4 separate regions of the Homo sapiens genome follow, and all the other regions are linked to region 2. The links are contacts of gene promoters, found by promoter capture Hi-C in blood cells and fetal thymus (Javierre and others, 2016). All regions are on one chromosome and are shown on one strand. The core of a region is centred on a gene start or on the middle of the fragment in contact, and the rest is flanking DNA. Distances in the headings are between cores, read along the strand shown.

Region 1 (2,757 bases), core at 111-2,610, 900 kb before region 2:
CACATCGCGCCCTCGGGCCCTGCCATGTCCCTGGTGCTACTGACCTCTCAAGGCTTCCTCCAATCTGGGGTCGGGGGACCCTGGGAGGTGCTTTACAGACCGCTAATAAAAGACGATCTGCGTGAACGCCACCAAGGCCCTTGCCACCAAGTTCTTTGGGGCTGGGAAGGGAGGAGGTGGGGGGCTTGGGCCATGGGAAACAGAGGGGACAGGATCCCCAGCTGCTCGCTGGGCAGTCAGGGAGGAGGAAAGCAGGGAACTTTTGCTCATCAACAGGAGAGGAGGTGGGTGTGGGTGCTCAGGTTGAGTCCAGAGCCCTTGTCCGGCTCTTTAGGCCCCTTTCTGGAAGTTTCTGTGGGGCATGGAGATCAGAGGGGAGAGGTCACAGCCTGCCCCGCTAGAACTGGGGTCTTCAGCCGCTCCCAAGGAAGGTGGTGGTGGGTGGGGTTGGAGAAAGGGGGCAGGCCTTACATGTGGGTGCAGAACTGGAAAAGGAGAAAGAAGAACGCCACCACCAGCAAGCCCACCAGGATGTGATGGAAGAGCCCGGGGCTGGAACCTGCTAGACAAACAGGACCCTTAACTCCCCTCTGATGGCCCAATGAAGGGTCTGGGGCTGCTCTCCTCCAGACCCTGGCGGGGAGGGAGGTCCCTTCTCAAGCTGGTTCATACCTGAGTTAATGAACACGATGGGTTTCTCTCCAATAAACTGGGCCACAGCCAGCAGCCTGGCTTGGTCTGAGTCCGGATAATCGAAGAAGTCAGGTCTGTCTAAGAAGCGCGGAGACTCTGTCCCCAGGGCTGACGCCGTGGCACGCTTGGGTCTGGGTGCTAGGACCCAAGCAAACTCTGTGACAACAGCCAAGCTGACCCCTGCCTTTATCTCTCGAGGCGGAAGCTGACTTGGGACCCTGTGAGACCACCCAGCCTTATTGCAGAGGCTGTGGAGGGTCTTGATTTCCCTCAGGGTCAGCTGGGTGCACCACGACAAGGCTCGCGGTTGTTGGGGGGTAGGTGGGACCAGCAGGATGGGAGAGAAGAGTGGAGAGAAAATGAGAGGGTGCAGGGTTGGCTTCCGAGTCCCTAAGTGGGCATCACACTTTATGCTCCCAGAGCTGCCTGCCTTCCTGCTGCTCCCAAGACAGCTTCTTACCAGTTTCTATGGCCCCTAGTGCAGCCAGCCACACCCACACCAGCACCCATGGCCACAGCCTCATGACTCCTATCATGAGGTGGGGGCTCTGTGATGTCACAGCCCAGAGCTGTTCTGATGGCACTTTGGGGTGAGGGGAGAAAGTGCTAGGAGCTGGGACCCCTCCCCCATCCCTCACTCTCATCAGAAGAGGAGAGGAGAAGAGAGGTTGGGACCAGTCTTCACCCCCTGGAATGTCGCTGATGATAAAACCATAATGGTGGCAGCCCCAGCATTTACAAAGAGGAGGGATGCGGCACGGCCATCTTGCTGAAAGCCCGAACTAAAGGAAGCTGTGTTTGGACAACAGGCACAATTTGGGGTGGTGGCACAGGGCCACACACCTCCGGTTACCCCTTGGATCAACCACAGGTAACATTTGTTTTATTTATTTTCATTTTTTTGGAGACAGGGTCTCTGTCTGTCACCCAGGTGGGAATGCAGTGGCGCCATCTTGGCTCTCTACAGCCTCTGCCTCCTGGGTTCAAGTGATTCTCTTGCCTCAGCCTCCTGAGTATCTGGGATTACAGCTTTGGATAAATCCCTTCCTTTTATCTGTCTGCCACCACACCCGGCTAATTTTTGTATTTTTAGTAGAGACAGGGTTTCACTATGTTGGTCAGGCTGGTCTTGAACTCCTCACCTCAGGTGATCTGTTCGCCTCGGCCTCCCAAAGCGCCCGGCCTATTTTATGTATTTTCAGAGACAGGGTCTCACTCTGTCACCCAGGCTGGAGTACAGTGGTATGATTACTGCAGCCTTGAACTCCTGGCCTCAAGTGATCCTCCCACATCAGCCTCCTGAGTAGCTGGGACCACAGGCATGTGCCACCATGCCCGGCTAATTTTTGCATTTTTTGTAGAAATGAGGGCTTGCTATGTTGCCCAGGCTGGTTTCGAACTTCTGGCCTCAGGTGATCCTCCAGCTTCGGCCTCCCAAAGTGCTGGGATTACAGGCATGAGCCACCATGCCCAGCAGGTAGCATTTATTGAACACCTATTACTATGCTGGCTGGACCCCATTTATGGCCAAGTACCTTGCACAAATTTGTTCATTTGCTCTTGCACTGACCCTCAGAGGCAGGTACTCTTTTTTTTTTTTTTTTTTTTTTTTTTTTTTGAGATGGAGTTTCACTCTGTCCGCCAGGCTGGAGTGCAGACGCACAATCTCAGCTCACTGCAACCTCCACCTCCTGGGTTCAAGCGATTCTCCTGCCTCAGCCTCCTGGAGTGGGATTACAGGCGCGCACCATCACTGTTCGGCTGATTTTTGTACTTTTAGTAGAGATGGGGTTTCACCATGTTGGCCAGGCTGGTCTTGAACTCCTGAACTCGGATGATCCGCCTGCCTCGGCCTCCCAAAGTGTTGGGATTACAGGCGTGAGCCACCAAGCCCAGCCCAGAGGCAGGTACTCTTGCCTCCCTTATACACGGGAGGAAATCACGGCACAGAGGGGAAAAGTAGTGTGGGCAATGCACACTTCCTGGGGGGGGGGTTCCTCTCTGAGGCTCCCCCTTGCATCCTATCCGCAGATCCAGGGGCACAGGGCTCTCTCCGTCCTCCCC
Region 2 (2,836 bases), core at 337-2,836:
ACTCCAAGAGACCACCAGGCCCCGGTGATAGCCAGCACAGTACCTGGCACATAAATCCTGCCCACCTGCCTGGCGTGGCTGGGAGACCCGCCCGGGTGCTCTCTGTCTCTCCCTCCCTCTTTCACTGCTCCCTGAAGGCAGCGTCTAAAGAGGCTGAGGCTGTCCTGTCACTGCCCCGACCTCTGAGGAGAAGCCCGCGGCTGTCCTGTCACTGCCCCGACCTCTGCGGAGAAGCCCGCAGTTCTGATCACGGACCTCAGATGGGGAAGCGCACAGGAGGCCTCGGGTGGCCGGGCTGTGCTGCTTCTCCCTAGACGGGCAGAGCTGGCGCATAGGAGGTGCTTCACAGGTGACTAAGGAGGCAAAGACCCGAAGCCTGGGGGACTGCAGTGTCCGGTGGATCCCAGCTGCGGCCATCGGGCCCATGGGTGGGAGAGCCAAGGGAGGGGCTCAGCTGGGCAATAGGATGGGAGTGGGCGGGGGACACTGCTGGGAACTCCCTTCACTGCATGGCCAAGACTGTGCATAAGCGAACAGGGCGGGAGAGCTGTGTGTCGCCTCGGGCAGTCACTCAGCCTCTCCGCCCGTTTTCCTGGTCTGTAAAATGGGCCGAAATGCCCTCCCTGCGCTGTTCTTTGGGCAGTTTCTATAAATGCTTGGCCCAGCCTCCCCGGCACACGGTTGCTACCTGGATCACTGTTCTGTTATTTTCATCCCTGCCCCTGCTCTTTGCTTAGACCGACTTCCCCTGACTCCGGTGAAATCAGCCTCCACAGGCATTTCATCAGCCCTTGTTCGTCCACAACACGGCTAGGCAGGTGTGCTCAGGGGGTCTGAGGCTTTCACAGACGTTAAATGTATGTCCCTGCAGGAAACAGGTTTCTGTACAGCCCCAGAGACTGTACAGAAGGCTGAGGCCATCTCTACTAAAAATACAAAAAAATTAGCCGGGTGTGGTGGCAGTTTTTCTTTGTGACAAGATATAGGTAAGATTTCTGAAAGACAGGAGCTAGTAACATGTTCTATTTCTTCTGATAGCAGTTTTTTCCTAGTAATTTGTCAATTGCATTTAACGTTTCCCACTGACTTTTGAGACAGCCTCAAGTTTTTATGTCTGAAGGGTTCGTAGATTCTGACATTGTAATTTGTCCCTGCTCTCTTTTCTCTGACTAGTGTACCAGGGCTTTCTCAAGTGTACTAATCTTCTCAAAGAATCCAATTTGGTTTTGTTGGTTGTATCTACTCTACGTTTTGTGCCTCATTTCCTTAATTTTTCCTTGTCTTTAAGCTTTTCTCTAATACAACTGTCGATGTATTCCCCGAGTTTTGATCAATTTGCATGTGTCATTCAGTTACAAATACCTTCACATGTCCAGTTTTCTTTCTTATCTGACCTAGGGGTTATTTAAATGTTTGTTATTTAACTCCCAATCATTCAGGGATTTTTCTACTTTTCTTCTCATTAATTTTTGCCTTAATTCCATTTGGTCACAAAACACATTCTGCAAGCCCCCATCCTGTGGCATTGAGGTGGCTTCACAGTCTAGTGGGTGGCAATTTGGAGAAAAGCGTGTTCCCTGAGGTTGCTGGGCGTGACATTCCTCACACGTGACTTGGGTCACCTCAGTCTCCCGAGTTGCTGGGATTACAGGCCTAAGCCACTGTACCACGCTAAAGATTAAAAAGTTATAAAAACATGATCTAACAAAAAATACCCAGGGGTAAAAATAAATTGGCATTAAAATTTTCTTCCTAATAATCTAATGAAATAAGCAAAACTGAAAATAAAACCAACTCTCCAAATAACCACTGCACCAGAGAAACAGGACTAACCTAATGTAACAAACTTTAAAACCTCGTTGCTAAAGAAAGAAAGAAGCTTCTAGCTTCTGGCAATTGGCTTTGAGAGGCTCCAGATCTAACTCCTTACGCTGCTCTCCCCAAGGAGCCACGCTTGTGCTCCGACAGAGATCTGTGACTTCCACCCAACAGTCCCAAATCAGAGGGCGAGCAGGTCAAAGACGGGTGTGTTTTCTTCCTCTTTCCTAGAAGCTACAGAAATGACTACCAGTGAGAGAGGGAAGCAGTGTCAGGACTGACTCCACAGAAGTCAGCACTCTGCAACAGCACAGGATGCAGGGCTCCTAGGCAACATGTTTGGGTGAAAAGCCGCCCAGGGCCCTTCGCATGCTCAGAGGACGCAGCGCACCGCCGTGCACCGCATCCTGGTCTCTTAACACCAGGGCCCTCCAAACACCGCATCCTGGTCTCTAACACCACATCCTGGTCTCTAATGCCAGGGCCCTCCAAACACCGCATCCTGGTCTCTAACGCCAGGGCCCTCCAAACACCGCATCCTGGTCTCTAACGTCATTTTTCAATTCACGGAGAAACGGCTGATTCTAGGCTGGGACAAGTACTCACAATGAGCCCGGAGAAGCATTTGGTAGTGCTGTGCAAGTAAAAAGTGCTCAGGCTGGGCATGGTGGTTCACATCTGTAATCCCAGCACTTTGGGAGGCCAAGGCAGGCGGATCACCTGAGGTCAGGAGTTCGAGACCAGCCTGGTCAACATGGTGAAACCCCGTCTCTAATATAAATACAAAAAATTAGCCGGGTGTGGTGGCACGGCCTGTAATCCCAGCTACTTGGGAGGTTGAGGCAGAAGAATTGCTTGAACCCAGGAGGTGGAGGTTACAGTAAGAGATCGCCCCATTGCACTCCAGCCTGGGCAACAAGAGCAAAACTCTGTCTCAAAAGAAAACAAGAAAAAAAAAAAAACACTAATGATGAAACACCTACAATGAAGAGGGAATGGAGGAAATGTCAAGGGGCAC
Region 3 (2,757 bases), core at 193-2,692, 540 kb before region 2:
TCCCACGGTCACTGTCACGGCCCCCTCCTCAGGGACCTGGGCTGGCCCAGCCCAGGCGTCCACCACCCCGTTACGCTTGCCGCCTCTGCTCAGCACGAGGGCCCCAGTCCGCCGCTTCTGCCGCCGGCGCCACAGCAGGAGCAGAGCCACGAGGACTATGACCGCCAGCAGGGCCACAAGCACAGCCACTGGCAGCATGCCTCGTGAGTTCTCATCTGGGTTCCGGAAGGGCACAGTGCTTGCGTTGGTGGAGGTCGTTGGAGACATCATTGTAGATAGTTTTACGCTAGAGACCTGGGGTCCACTGGCCCCGCTGGAGGGCTCCAGAGAGCCAGTTGTCATGGTAACAGGGGGTCCAGTGGTCCCAGTGGAGGTCTCCAGAGAGTCAGTTGCCATGGTAACAGGGGGTCCAGAGGTGCCTTTGGAAGTCTCCAGAGAGACAGTTGCCATGGTAAGAGGGGGTCCAGAGGTGCCTCTGGAGGTCTCCAGAGAGCTAGCTGCCGTGGTAACAGGGGCTCCACTGGTCCTACTGGAGGTTTCTGGAGAGTTCGTTGTTATGGTTCCACCTGTCACGGTGTGGGATCCTAGAGAGTTTGCTGTTATGGGAACAGCAGGATGACTGGTTGCATGAGGGGTTTCCTGGGGCACTGATGACATCTTGATGGAAACTTCCTGGTAGGTTGTTGGCTCAGGTAAAGGGGAACCAGTGCTGGCACCAATGGAAGTCCAAAGAGGGGATCCCTCATTGATGGAAGTTGAGGGAGGTAGGGCTGAGGTCTGGTCCCCAGTGCTGTCGGCCTTAGGGTCACTTGTTATTGAAGTGGTGTACATCTTTGAGCTCAGGGGCTCGCTAGTAGAGACCAAAGGCTCTCCGGAGGTGGGTGTCTGCACTGCTGTTGTGCTCCCCAGAGCGTCTGGGCTTACCACCAGCACCCCAAGGAGAAGGAGAAGCGTGGCCATTTCCAGGCAAACAGGCAGGAGCAAGAGCTGGGACCTGCAGGTGGGCAGCCGGAGAAGCAGAACACGCGGGAGTTGCCGGAGGACCTGGCCGGGCCTCCCCTCTGCCCACTTCCCTGCCAACGGCCAGGCCCAACCTGCGGTTTAACGGTTTTTTCCATGCTGGCTTTTACTGTTATCAGAAATGACAGAGGAACAGATGCTGGCAGCTCCCCCATCAGCCCCATCCTGAGGCTCCCTCCAGCCTCAGCAGCTTAGATTCCAGCAGTGACCAGCCCCTCCTGGCCTTCCCTGACCCTGTGCAGCCCAATGGCTCCCAATCTCTTCCCATCATAACCTGTCAGAGTCTTTTCAAGCCACAGGCACATTCCCAGGCCCACTGAGGCCCCTACCCCACCAAGTCTCACCCTCTTACCGGCTCGGCTGATAAGGACGCAGCACTGGGGCCAGGTCACTCCACCACCTCCCGAGGCTGGGGCAAGACTGGGAAGGACAGGGCCCCAAGGGGAAAGGAAGTGGGCCCTGGCTCCACCCACCCCACCCACCCCTCCATCCTGCCCCACCCGCCTGCTCCCACAGCTGCTGGGCGAAGACAGCACCATCACCTGCTCCTTCAGGGGCCAGCGGGGTGCCTGGGGGTCTGGGGCTCACCTGAGGGAGGCAGGGAAGCGTGGGATCTGGAATCAGGATTCCTGGCTCTTGGCTGAGGAATGGGATGGAAGTGGTGATGCTAGGGAGGGCTGGGCTCAGAGGTGGGTGGTGGGAATGTGAGCCTGAGAACTCAAGGGTGCAGAGGAGGAGGTGGGAGGGGAGGGTGGTTTCCTTTGCATTTGTGGTCCCCAAGCTGTTAGGCCAGGAGCTGAGTGGCGCCATTTCCTGCCCTCAGAGCTCCCAGGAAGTAGCAGGGCAAGAGGAAGCCCCCGAGTCTGGCTGGGGGCCGTGAAAACCTTTGCAGGCTGGTGAGCTCTTGACTCTGTCCGGGGAGCTGGGGGTCACCACAGTGGCCCCCAGTCACAGAGACGTGGCTAAACCAAGGTGGTTCCTACACACTGCATATGCTAGGATCTTATTTCTGCAAACTAGTAAAGATGTGGGAATCTTTTTTTTTTTTTTTAAGGCGGAGTTTAGTGCAATGGCATGATCTTGGCTCGGCTCAGCACAATGTCTGCCTCCTAGGTTCAAGCAATTCTCCTGCCTCGGCCTCCTGAGTAGCTGGGATTACAGGCTTGCACCACTGTGCCCGGCTAATTTTGTATTTTTCGTAGAGACGAGGTTTCTCCATGTTGGTCAGGCTGGTCTCGAACTCCTGACCTCAGGTGGTCCATCCGCCTCAGCCTCCCCAAGCGCTAGGATTACAGGTGTGAGCCACCGCGCCTGGCCAGATATGGGAATCTATATGGAAAACCGTCTGGAAAGATATCTACTAAGGGATTCACCTAATTGTCTTTGGATAGGTGAGAGTAGGAGGTGGGGGTATTTTCTTCTTTGAATGGTTCCCATTTCCTGACTTTCCTCTAATTAGCAAGCTTTGACTCTCGGTTTGTGTATGTTTTTGGTTTTTGTTCTTGAAAAACGAAAATCAGTCCCGGGTGTGGTGATACATTATGCTGGCAGTCCAGGCCAAAGTGGGAGGACCTCCTGAGCCCAAGAGTTTGAAACCAGCCTGGGCAACGTAGCAAAACTCCTATCACTAAAAAAATAAATAATTTTTTAAAATCAAAACTGATTTGTATATTTTAAGAGCAACATGTGCACAATAGAAGATTCTAACAGGCCCGTGGGACTGTGCCATTTCTACAA
Region 4 (2,703 bases), core at 182-2,681, 620 kb before region 2:
CGGGGTTTTGCCATGTTGGCCAGGCTGCTCCCAAACTCCTGACCTCAGGTGATCCACCCGCCTCGGTCTCCCAAAGTGCTGGGATTACAGGCATGAGCCACCTCGCCCAGCCCAGGGATTTCTATCTATTCTTCCACCACCCTGGCCACTACATGCTCACCCACACATACATTGGTCATGCGACTTTGGTCATGAAATCTCTTTTCTTTAAGCCTTACTTTTGTCATCTGTGGATGAGTCAAACTAGAGAATCTCAGAAAGTCACCTGGACTCCAGAGCCTGATGACATCTTGTCACACTCTGCTCCAGGCTCCTCCCACCCTCAGCAGCAGGAAAGAGGGACAGACATGAGGATGGTCAGGGTTTTGGAAACAGGCCCACGCCTGTTTTTATACCCTGGACTCCTCTCAGAGGCTTGACATTTTTGTTACCCAAGCCTCACCTCACTGATATTTTCCAACCAAAATGGGGGCTAAATGGTCTGAAGAGAGAGAGACTTATGTTAATTAAAAGTATGAGGCAGGGGCCAGTGTGGTAGCTCACACCTGTAATCCCAGCACTTTGGGAGGCTGAGGCAGGAGGATCTCTTGAGGCCAGGAGCTTGAGACCAGCCTGGGCAACATAGCAAGAGCCCATCTCTACCAGAAAAAAAAAAAAAAGGTGTGAAGCAAGCTGGCCAAGCAGGGGGTGCCTGTGGGGGCTGCATGGCAGGAGCAGATCTGGGGAGGCACCGTGGATAAGACAAGGCAGGATGGGGTGGGGCATCCTCCCAGGAGGAACGGGGGAGGCACCATGGTTCTCTGGGAATGTACGGGCTAAAGTCCCAGTGTCCTATTTCTTTTTCTTTTCTTTTCTTTTCTTTTTTTTTAAGACGGAGTCTCACTCTGTTGCCCAGGCTGGAGTGTGGTGGCACGATCTCAGCTCACTGCAACCTCCGAGTCCCGGGTTCAAGCGATTCTCCCTGCCTCAGCCGCCTGAGCAGCTGAGATTACAAGTGCCCGTCACCATGCCCAGCTAATTTTTGTATTTTTCAGTAGAGATGGGGTTTCGCCATGTTGGCAGGCTGGTCTCGAACTCCTGACCTCAGGTGACTTGCCCACCTTGACCTCCCAAAATGCTGGGATTACAGGGGTGAGCCACTGTGCCTGGCCCCGGCGTCCTCTTTCTCAGCTTTTCGGTGAATGTTCTGGGGCTCAGGGCCTGGCTATGGGGTGACACTAAGTTCAACAGAACCATTGCCCATTCCAGCCCCACCTTACCCCAGGAAAAGCCTCCTCACCGCAGTGACCACATCCCCTTGGGTTGCTTTGGAAACAAACACTCCCCAGGGGCAGACGAGTTGGGGCACAGTTGCCCAGCAACAGGCGGTGCCCTCCCTTCCGCCTTCATCCGAGGCCGGGCCTCTACGTCTGAGAGGCGGACCGCCCTGCACCCTCCAAGCCTGCACCTCTTAGTCCAGCACCAGGAAGAGTGGCTCTAGGAGGGAGAGGAGCCCAGGGACTGACCCAAGGTGAGTTGAGGGGTGCAGGAGGCCCCCTGCAGATGGAGGATGTGGGGGACAGAGAGGTGTGCAGAGACAAACGAGAGATAGAGACAGGCCAGAGCCTGGGCAAAGCTGGGGAGCCCAGGAGGGGTGCAGAGGCGCCTCCGGAGGCCTGGCCCGGCCCGGCCCGGCAGCAGATTCCGTGGAGCCTATGAGAGCAAGATCAAGTCCGAGGAGAATGGTGAGGGGCGAAGGAGCCTCAAGGGGCCAGCGGAGGTGCTGGCGGCAGGCGGTGGGGGAGACACACGCAGGGGAGCCAGTGGGAGGGGAGGTTCTCATTTCTTCACCCACCACTTCCTCTCTAGGTCTGAGCAAGACTTGAGGGGGCCGAGTGGGGAGGAAAGAAGCCCTTGAGACCTTTCTTGTCTGAGGCACCCTGGGGTCTGGGAGGGAAATGGGGATTCTGGAAAGGCCTGGAGAGCCAGGCAGGAGGGCCTGGCTGTGCCCCGAGGTAGGCTGCCTGTCCTCCCACCCCACCTGGCTCACGCTTACCCTTTCTGGTCCCTCTTGCTTCTCTGTCTCTCCAGAATGTTCTTTTTCATTTTTGAGAAAGGGTCTTGCTCTATTGCCCAGGCTGGAGGACAGTGGTGCAATCTGGGGTCACTGCAGCTTCAAACTCCTGGGCTCAAGTAATCCTCCCACCTCAGCTTCCTGTGTAGCTGGGACTACAGGTGTGAGCCACCACACCCAGCTAGTTTTTAAATTATTTTTAGAGATGAGGTTTCACTGTGTGTCCAGGCTGGTCTTGAACTCCTGGGCTCAAGTGATCCTCCCGCCTCGACCTCTCAAAGTGCTGGGATTCCAGGCATGAGCCCCCATGCCCAGCCCTTCTCCCAGGCTTTCCTGGACACCTGCTGCCTCTCTCTCATCTTGGTTGTGCCCCCTCTGCCTCATTTACTTCCTCTTCTCACCCCTGTGTCTCTCAGATGCCGTTGACTCCAGAGCCGCCCTCTGGGCGCGTGGAGGGGCCCCCCGCATGGGAAGCAGCCCCATGGCCCTCACTGCCCTGTGGGCCCTGCATCCCCATCATGCTGGTCCTGGCCACCCTGGCTGCGCTCTTCATCCTCACCACCGCTGTGTTGGCTGAACGCCTGTTCCGCCGTGCTCTCCGCCCAGACCCCAGCCACCGTGCACCCACCCTGGTGTGGCGCCCAGGAGGA

Evidence for each region. Contacts are between HindIII fragments. The CHiCAGO score rates a contact against its expected background, and 5 or more counts as called.
Region 1: a contact is called between the fragment with the promoter of C16orf92 here and a fragment that was not itself captured in region 2, in 2 of 17 cell types (naive CD4 T cells and erythroblasts). The highest score is 5.3, in naive CD4 T cells.
Region 3: the fragment with the promoter of SPN here is called in contact with a fragment that was not itself captured in region 2 in 1 of 17 cell types (fetal thymus); the score reaches 5.0 in fetal thymus.
Region 4: a contact is called between the fragment with the promoter of C16orf54 here and a fragment that was not itself captured in region 2, in 2 of 17 cell types (endothelial precursors and fetal thymus). The highest score is 7.2, in endothelial precursors.

The regions. Positions count from the first base shown.
Region 1 is chr16:30,021,801-30,024,557 of GRCh38, reverse strand. C16orf92 (chromosome 16 open reading frame 92) reads right to left here and starts at 1,360. Exons shown (of 4, transcript NM_001109659.2): 1 at 1,154-1,360; 2 at 673-831; 3 at 472-559; 4 at 1-352. The coding sequence starts at 1,217. The coding sequence ends at 331. It overlaps TLCD3B (TLC domain containing 3B), which reads left to right. Exons shown (of 5, transcript NM_031478.6): 5 at 1-131. It also overlaps a transcript of DOC2A not described here. The HindIII fragment of the contact is 16,537 bases long and covers 1-2,757 here.
Region 2 is chr16:29,125,557-29,128,392 of GRCh38, reverse strand. LOC124903671 reads left to right here. Exons shown (of 3, transcript XM_047435010.1): 3 at 1-1,323. Among named protein-coding and RNA genes, the nearest start is that of LAT, 140 kb to the right of the region's middle. The HindIII fragment of the contact is 591 bases long and covers 1,291-1,881 here.
Region 3 is chr16:29,661,932-29,664,688 of GRCh38, reverse strand. It overlaps SPN (sialophorin), which reads right to left and starts at 1,442. Exons shown (of 2, transcript NM_003123.6): 1 at 1,373-1,442; 2 at 1-994. The coding sequence starts at 960. RefSeq lists silencers at 338-457, 1,718-1,777 and enhancers at 1,958-2,037, 2,678-2,727. The HindIII fragment of the contact is 6,496 bases long and covers 1-2,485 here.
Region 4 is chr16:29,744,718-29,747,420 of GRCh38, reverse strand. C16orf54 (chromosome 16 open reading frame 54) reads left to right here and starts at 1,431. Exons shown (of 2, transcript NM_175900.4): 1 at 1,431-1,510; 2 at 2,470-2,703. The coding sequence starts at 2,470. LOC124903673 (a long non-coding RNA gene) reads right to left here and starts at 2,174. Exons shown (of 2, transcript XR_007065046.1): 1 at 2,036-2,174. RefSeq lists enhancers at 495-564, 1,092-1,141. The HindIII fragment of the contact is 10,190 bases long and covers 1-2,703 here.